2 separate regions of the Homo sapiens genome follow, and region 2 is linked to region 1. The links are contacts of gene promoters, found by promoter capture Hi-C in blood cells and fetal thymus (Javierre and others, 2016). All regions are on one chromosome and are shown on one strand. Each heading gives the region's core, a stretch centred on a gene start or on the middle of the fragment in contact. The rest is flanking DNA. Distances are from core to core; before and after follow the strand shown. Region 1 holds the start of RAB6B (RAB6B, member RAS oncogene family). Region 2 overlaps RYK (receptor like tyrosine kinase).

What was found. Contacts are between HindIII fragments. The CHiCAGO score rates a contact against its expected background, and 5 or more counts as called.
Region 2: a fragment that was not itself captured here is called in contact with the fragment with the promoter of RAB6B in region 1 in 2 of 17 cell types (megakaryocytes and erythroblasts); the score reaches 6.8 in megakaryocytes.

Annotation. Positions count from the first base shown.
Region 1 is chr3:133,894,632-133,898,555 of GRCh38, forward strand. It overlaps RAB6B (RAB6B, member RAS oncogene family), which reads right to left and starts at 1,251. Exons shown (of 8, transcript NM_016577.4): 1 at 766-1,251. The coding sequence starts at 835. RefSeq lists a silencer at 1,221-1,270. The HindIII fragment of the contact is 7,968 bases long and covers 1-3,924 here.
Region 2 is chr3:134,206,918-134,210,841 of GRCh38, forward strand. RYK (receptor like tyrosine kinase) reads right to left here. Exons shown (of 15, transcript NM_002958.4): 4 at 2,778-2,912; 5 at 555-608. Among named protein-coding and RNA genes, the nearest start is that of RYK, 42 kb to the right of the region's middle. The HindIII fragment of the contact is 3,151 bases long and covers 475-3,625 here.

The sequences.
Region 1 (3,924 bases), core at 1-2,500:
GGTGCCCCTGTATCATTCCCCAAATCGCCTCGAGTTGGGGTAGCCCTCACTGCAATTGCCCAGATCCCTGGGCAGCAAGGAGACTAACAAGCGCCGGCGAAGGGCAGCGGGTCTAGAACCTTCTGTGCCCAGTCGGACGTGAGCCAGGGGAGGTAGGCTCCCCGTTCCCCCATGGCCTGCACTCGCTCTTTCGAGCAGAGACAGGTGTCGCTCTTTTCTCCCCGGTGGCTGTTTGTCCCACGCCCTGGACGTGCCCTTTCGCATGGTTCCCAGCAGGGTCCGCAGGGAACACCCCTCCAGTGCAGCGGAGTGAGGCCCGGCCAGACCCCAGCTTCGCTTCGTTCTCCAAGGGGGGCGCCCGTCGCTCTCCCCACCCCCGCCAGCACCCAGCCACCTGCGCGGTCGCCCGCAGCCGGTGCCGCAGTGTGAGCTAGCCAGCGAGCCCGGTTCCTTCACGCCCTGGCCAGCGCCGCGGAGCCAGCCGCCGCCCTCCGGGCCCCCTGCAGCGCCGCACCTGCACCCACACCCCGGGCCCCCCACCCAGAGCCCACCCTCACCTCCACCCCAGGCTCCAGCGCCTCCTCCGTCCTCACCCTTGGCCCCTCCCCAGCCCGACCCCGCCCCGACCTCCCCATCCCTGTCCCTCTCCTCTACCCTGGCAAGGAGGGGCCTTTCCGAGCCTGGGCCGGGGGTCCCAATGGGGTGGGCGATTGGGCGGCGGGGGTCGACTCGGCGACAAGCCAAGAGATTAAGCCGGGTACTTACCGCTCTGCTCCCCCAAGAACACCAACTTGAATTTTCTCAGTGGATTCCCAAAATCTCCCCCTGCGGACATGGTGCTGGCAGCCGGGGCCGGGAGAGGAGGAGGAGGAAAAAGCGAAGGAGCAGGGAGGGGAGAGTAGGAGGGCGAGGGGAGGCGGCCGGCGGTGCGGGAGCCGGAGGGGGAAGGGCTGGCTGCGCGCGTCCCTGACTCCCCAGCTGCGTCCCGGTCCCGGCCTGCGGCTGCGTGTCCGGCGGCGGAGGAGGAGGAGGAGAGAGAGGCGGAGGCGGAGGAAGGCTGGGGCTGGGCTGCTGCGGTCGGCACTGGCTGCGGTGCGAGGGGCGCGCTCTTTACGCCCGAGGCGCGGCGCTGGGAGAGAGGCGCGGGCGGAGCGGGGCGCAGGGACGGCGCGCGGGGCGGAGGAGCGCTCTCCAGAGCCGCGCCAGTCGGCCCCCTCCCGCCTGCCTCCTCCGCCGGCGCCTGCGCTCTGTGCGCTCCCCAGCCTCTGATGTCATGCGGGGCCCGCGGGGCTGCGGGGCTGGGGGGCGTGCGCCCGCCCACCCGAGCCCGCACCCGGGCAGGAGAGAACCTCCTCGCCGTACCCCTGAGAGCCCCCCGGGGGGGACCGTGTCTCGCTGCCCCGCTGCGTCTGTCTTCCCCACTCTACCCCTCTTTTGAATCCAGAAAATGACAGAAATTGTCAGGGGACATTTGTTTCTGGTCTTTTAAACCTAGATGCCAGTCCCTTCCTCCACCTCGCGAGACACCGATGCACAGCGCAGTCGTCCGACCGACAGGGCGGAAAGGAACGAAGGTGGGGGAGAGCCAGGGTGTGGCGAGGCCCGTCAGGGCGGTCAGACCTAGGGAAACCTGGCGTACTTGGCGCAGATGGGGCTCGACTCTTGCCCCCCGTGGCTTCTAGCCCGCCCTTCCCTCTCGAGGCCTAGACCCTTTATTTGGGCGGCCTCTTGTGGAGTCTGTGGGTGCCCCCGCAGACCTGGCCAGCGAGAGAGGAGCTGCCAATATCAGGCGCGCCTACCTCAAACCAGCTGCTCATTTGGATCATTTTATGCCAAATCCTAACCTGCCCCATGGGAGAGAAGGAACGGTGACGCTCTGAATGCCAGTGCCACTATCTCCAGGACAGTGCCCTGCGTTTCTTGATCCCGGGGTCGCCAGGCTGACAATGCCACTCCCCACCCTGGCAATTAGGTGTATCTGGACAATGAGCTATCTGAGGACATGTGGGCGACCTCTCCTTGGCCTCTACTTGCCTGGTCCATCGAGGCACACAGACCAAGTTGTGAGTGAGTGAGAGCAAAGAGCAGACGCCAAGTGCTAGAAACACTCCCAAGACAGCCCGAGCCTAAGGCATGCTGGTTAATTGAGGTTTTACAAAGCTGTCCCTTACTGTTCTGCCACAGCGTGGTCTTGTTCATTTATGGCTGTTCAGTGAGCATTTATTTGAGATAATAATCTGCATGTCGGTGAACACGATGGTGTGTGCACGCATGTGTTATAGAAAGAGAAAGAGGAGTGAGACACAACCTTCACCTCCAGATTTCTCGTGGACACTTGTTACCCCCTTTTTGACTTATGGGGCTTGCTTGGGCAAGCCTATCTGTCTCCCTGGTGTGCTCACCTCGAATCTCTTTCCTATTTCTTGTTAGAAACCTGACCACAAGTTCCATAAAAGCAGTAGTTGAAGCTCCACCACTGCATCCCAAGGACATAGCTCAGAGTTTAAGAAATAGTTGTTGAATGTTTGAATGAACATCTAGAACTCAAATCAAAATAACTGTCCTATTCTCATAATTACCTTTAGTTTGGAACCCCAGGGATTGTAAGTCATCACCTAGAATATCTGCCCCGTTGTGGCTGGCACCAGGCTCAGGGTAACCCTCCAGACACCCACCCACTTCTCTGGGGCTCCTGCTCTCTTAGGAGACCATATCCAGCTTGGGGTTGAAGAAAGCTCTGAAAGGAGAGGAGACTCCCAAGTCACAGCCCTTCCCGTCTCTATAAGTGATCCCTCCAAAGAAGGGCCAGTGAGCTACTGGCCAAGGTACCCAGCCATGCAACACTCCTCCAACCTGCACCTTCTCCTAACATCTAGTGCTGTCTCCCTGTACCCTCTCATCCTGACCTGATGAGATCATCGGTGGCAAGACAAAACAGCTGAGGTGTGCCAGAAAAGGCACCATCTTTTGGGTAAGCCTAGGCAGGTCCTGTACCTCCTCTGATCATCTGGTCCCGCACATGTAAGGTGGTATGGCAGTAGGGGAGGGAGGGCTGGGGCAGGGCCCCTCTGGGCACCTCTAAGCCTCCAAGTCATCCCATATGCTTACCAGGTCCAGCTGGGCTGACTATGGTCCAGCTTACTTTGGGGGACTCTGTCATAATTCTTCCAGTTCAAATGACAAAAACCCGGCTCCGACTACCGGGCTCACGTCGCTGGAGCAGATACTGGCATTGCTCTCAGAATGCAGTCATCATGCTGTGGAAATGAGAGCCTTAGAGACTCCAAGTTTGCTCTGCTCCAAGTCTCTCTCCTCCAACTATCATTGCTTATCTCCCCTGATTTTGAGTCTTGTCCTTAACCTGCCCTAAAGCAGACAGACTTTCTCCAGGTGGAAAATGGGGCCACTGAACCTCAGCCTGGCAACCTCACTAGAAAGAGTTTCTTCCATATCATAGAATCTGTGCATTCCATTTAAAAAAATTCTTTAAATCTTCCTATTTAGTATGTGCTGTGTATATGTAAGTTACAAAGAAAACCTATCACTCTGAGTGCCCATTTACCCTCTACACAGCTGGAGGGCTCAAATATTATAGTACTTTTCAGGCCCCCAGGTGCTTTCTTCTCCTTCCTCCCTCCCCAACTTGGAAATCCAGAATCTTAGCTTTTCTTTGAGTTTTATCACATTGGATGTGTCCTTCACAATACTTTGTTTTGTTTTGCATCTTTTGAATCTTATATAAGGTATCAAACTGTGTTTTCTGTCCTGACTTGCATGTTTCTTAACATCATGTTTCTGAGATCCATTTGTTAATTCATGTAGCAGCAGTTCTTTCATTTTCACTGCTGGTTAGTATTCTAGTTATGCCCCAATTTTTAAATGATTTTCTGTAAAATGTGTCATTTAAAATTTTTATTTTATTTT
Region 2 (3,924 bases), core at 800-3,299, 310 kb after region 1:
TTTTAAGATACTGCTATTAACACTACCGCAAGAAGAGTAAGACCCAACGATGTCTTCATGTCAGAAAAAAAAAAGAAGTTTGTAATAATATCTAAACACAACCGATACCAAAAAATAAAAATCTACTTTGCATACCTGCTCTGTAGGTTTAAGTAACATAATATCTTTAAGCTTACACCTTCACCTGGATGAAATTAGCTTAAGATTAGGTCCAGACTGCAAGCCAGATTTTCTAACCCTCTGCTAATAAACATCTTACACATATTTCATGGTCATACTTTAATTATGACTACTCAAAAATATATGATATTCTTGCTTGTAAAACTTTTTAGCTTACTCGTTACAAAATACGTATAAATTTTAGTTCTCAAAATATTCAATATTCTAACAGTTTCATGACCTATCCACCAGTCTACAAAGCACCAGCAAAATAACAGCATGGTGTCATTATCATTTGATACCATGAGGCCTCCAAGCTTCATGCAATCATGTTTATATGCAGTCAACCATTTTTCATTTCTAATAATGGATAAAGATAATACAGTAACACTTACAAATAGTTCTGCTAGTGTTTTTGTCCAAGGCTGAAGTTTTTACTTCTTCAAGTTCTGAATTTAAAGGAGAAAAATGATGCTTTAGAAATTCTCTTTTCCATGAAAATCCTTAATTACTATAATTATCAGAACATTGCTGGAACTCAGCAACAGGTATGTGTTGCGAGATAATGAAAGCTATGTTACTATTCTGATAATCACCACTACAGTCACCAATCAATAGTCTATACCACTGTTAGCCAAAGGGTGTTACTTCTAGATGCTCAGTGAAAATGTTCCTATGATCAAGAAGTTTGGGAAAAGCCACATACTATAGTGTCTCTTTGGAGCTTCACAGTGAACATTAGAATATAAAGACTGAAAGGAGTTATGGGGTCACAAAACTTGTCTAACCCATAATTCCCATCCTCATATGATAAAAGAAACTTTTCTTGCTAGTAACACCTACTAACATTCCATATAGTACAGATGTTTTCTGTTGCAGACAGTTTTTGAAATATAGTAGGCTGGAAAACCAGATAAATAAATACATTAGGATCACATAATAAAGTAAGAGTCATGAGCCTGAACTGGATGACTAGGGTGGCCAAAACCATGACCAACAAATACAGAGGGCCAGAGAAAAACTTAAGTCTAAAACAGAATAGAAAATTACTCCAACACAGAATTTTAATGTTAATTTCACACACATATTAAAGAAAATGGAGAAAGTATGTGACCATTTTGAGTATCAGCTGATCATTAACCTTAGCAGATATTAGCACTGGTGGGATCCAGAGGCCACACCATGTCTGGTTATCATTCTGCCTTACTTAAGAGTAACAGATGAAGCACCATGGTACAGTCATGCCCATCTCTCTGAGGATAAGGAACTGAATGTTTTACACTCCTCACTGGCTAGCTGTGGTAGCCTAGGTGGCCAAGGGTCCAATCTCCTTATATCAAATATATAATGACTACATTGGAGTAGAGAGTCTCTGAAATCTCCTTTGTCTTTAACATTACATGGAAGTTGGTATATAACTGAATATAGTAGAACTGAAAATTGTACCAAAACACTAAAGCTGAAAGATGCTAACTCTTCTTTCTTAAAATGTCTATTCAAATGTAGTGCAGCTTTTTTATTGGCATGTACCCAGACATTAGCCAATTCAACTCACTTGTTGGCCTTAGGTGTTTTCATAACACTCAGCACTGATTTCAATTGGGAAATTTATTAAAAGAAAGTTTAACAAAGAGGCTGAGAGAACAGGTCTGCATCCTAGCTGCACCACTTAGCTATCTGATCTTGACAAGCTAGATTCTCTGAAGCTCAGCTTCCTTTTCTGAAAATGAAGACAATGAGAGAACCCATTGCCTAGGGTTGCTGTAGGGATTAAACAGGTGTAATACCTATCAAGCACTTAGAACACAGTAAGCACTGAGGGTTTGCGAGGTTTTTTTAAAGTATATTTCCCCCCCCCATCTTAGATACTAACCAATTCTACCTACGTGACCTTGTAAATTTGGGTCACTGTAGCTTTGTGGAACTTACAGTGAGTGGGTTGGACTAAACTTGTAAGGAGAACTCTAAAATTCTTTGATTTATGACCTAGCATGCTGGAACTCTTTCATATCCACTCGATTTCTTCAGTAACAGATAATTCAAAACCAAAAAGAACTAACTTTGCTAAGTACCCACATACGGTATTCTAAGTTTTAGGCTAGATTTAATGAACCGTAAAAAACAACAAACCTCTGAAACAGGTATTATGCCCATTTTACAGATGAAAAAACTAAGCCTCAGAGAGGTTAAGTAACTTGTATCAATATCCTGAAAAGAGCAGAGCTGCCATTCCAACCCAGGTCTATCTCACCCGAGAGCAATGCTTCTGCATAAAAGTAACTTGATAAGGGAAACACAGTTAACATAGTTACTCAGAAGTCCCAACAGATTTTTCTTATTTCTTTACCTCTTCAACCATTTTAGCACTATTCCTAATGGAAAACATCTTAGCAATTCTGACAAAAGATTTGAGAAAGCATGGACTGAATGAGGCCTGAGTGAGATTCTTGGCTACCAACCATCTGGGATTATCTCAAAACTTCACCTGCCAGTGCTCTTTTCTCACTTGCAACTATAATCATGAGTTGGACATACTTAAATCTGTGAAAAAACAACAAACTCTATTTTTCACCTTCTCACATACATGTAAAACATATTTTGGTAAATAAATTCCTTACTTTTGTAGCACATTTTCCTTCGTTTAAAATTTAAGACGGTAAAATTTTTTGAAGAATTTACTGTCAAGTTGAGCTGCATTAGTATCATAACTTCAGAATCTACTTTGCCAGTACAGGAAAGCTCTACCCGAAACACTGTTTAAAAAAGATAAGAAAAATATTTTACATTTTCTAAAAATCAACATTAATGCCCCAAAATGATTCTTTTAAACATTTTAGAATTACTTATTTTTGCTGCAAGAAAACTAAAAGTAATACATTTAAATAAAGTAACTAAACAAAAGTTTTTAGAGATCTTCAGACTACCACACCTCTAGACATTAAGCATTTAATTCATTATGGATATAAAAGTTAGTATTAAAGAACAAACCAAGACATCAATGAAGAGATAATTGTTTTCAACTTCTGCTCATTGTTTTTAATACACCACTTTGTCTCATAAGTCCTGCTATTCCAGTACACTAAAACTGAAGGATCATAAGGCAAACCTTAACAGACACATCAGCAATAGTAACAACAGAAATTACATGATCAAATGGAAAGACAACTCACTACCAAAATGCAAGTATGTCTGCTCTTAATAAAAAGATTAAATATAAACCTGTAAATGAATCTGATAAATTGTCAGCTATCACCTTTCTCAACAGAAATTGATTTTAATCCATAATTGTAACAATGGGATAACAGACTTCAGTGCATATAATTTTTTTCCCCAATCTTTAAGATTCTTTTCCTACAAATTTAAAACCTATCATTCTACCATCTGTATGACTGCATTAAAGATATGGGCATTTCTAAATTCCTTTACTGCCCATAAAAATTTAAGCAGCCCTCCTGTGCTTTATTTAAGCTTAATGTATGTCACTGATAACAGTGAATATGACTGCCAGAAAAAGTTTCACAACACTATTGTGGCTGATACTTTCAATTTTTAAAAATATCCATTTCTTACAAATACCACAACTTCAAGAGCCTAAGAAGTTAGCTCAAAAGCAGTTAAATTGGTGTAAATAATACACTTATTCATTTACTCAGACTGTACTGAGTGCCTATCCTGCACCATACTCTATGCTATGCATCAAGGGAATTGCTAGATATGTAATCAGTGCAAAAACAGTTAAATATAAGGTTCTAAGGGGTAGGAAGA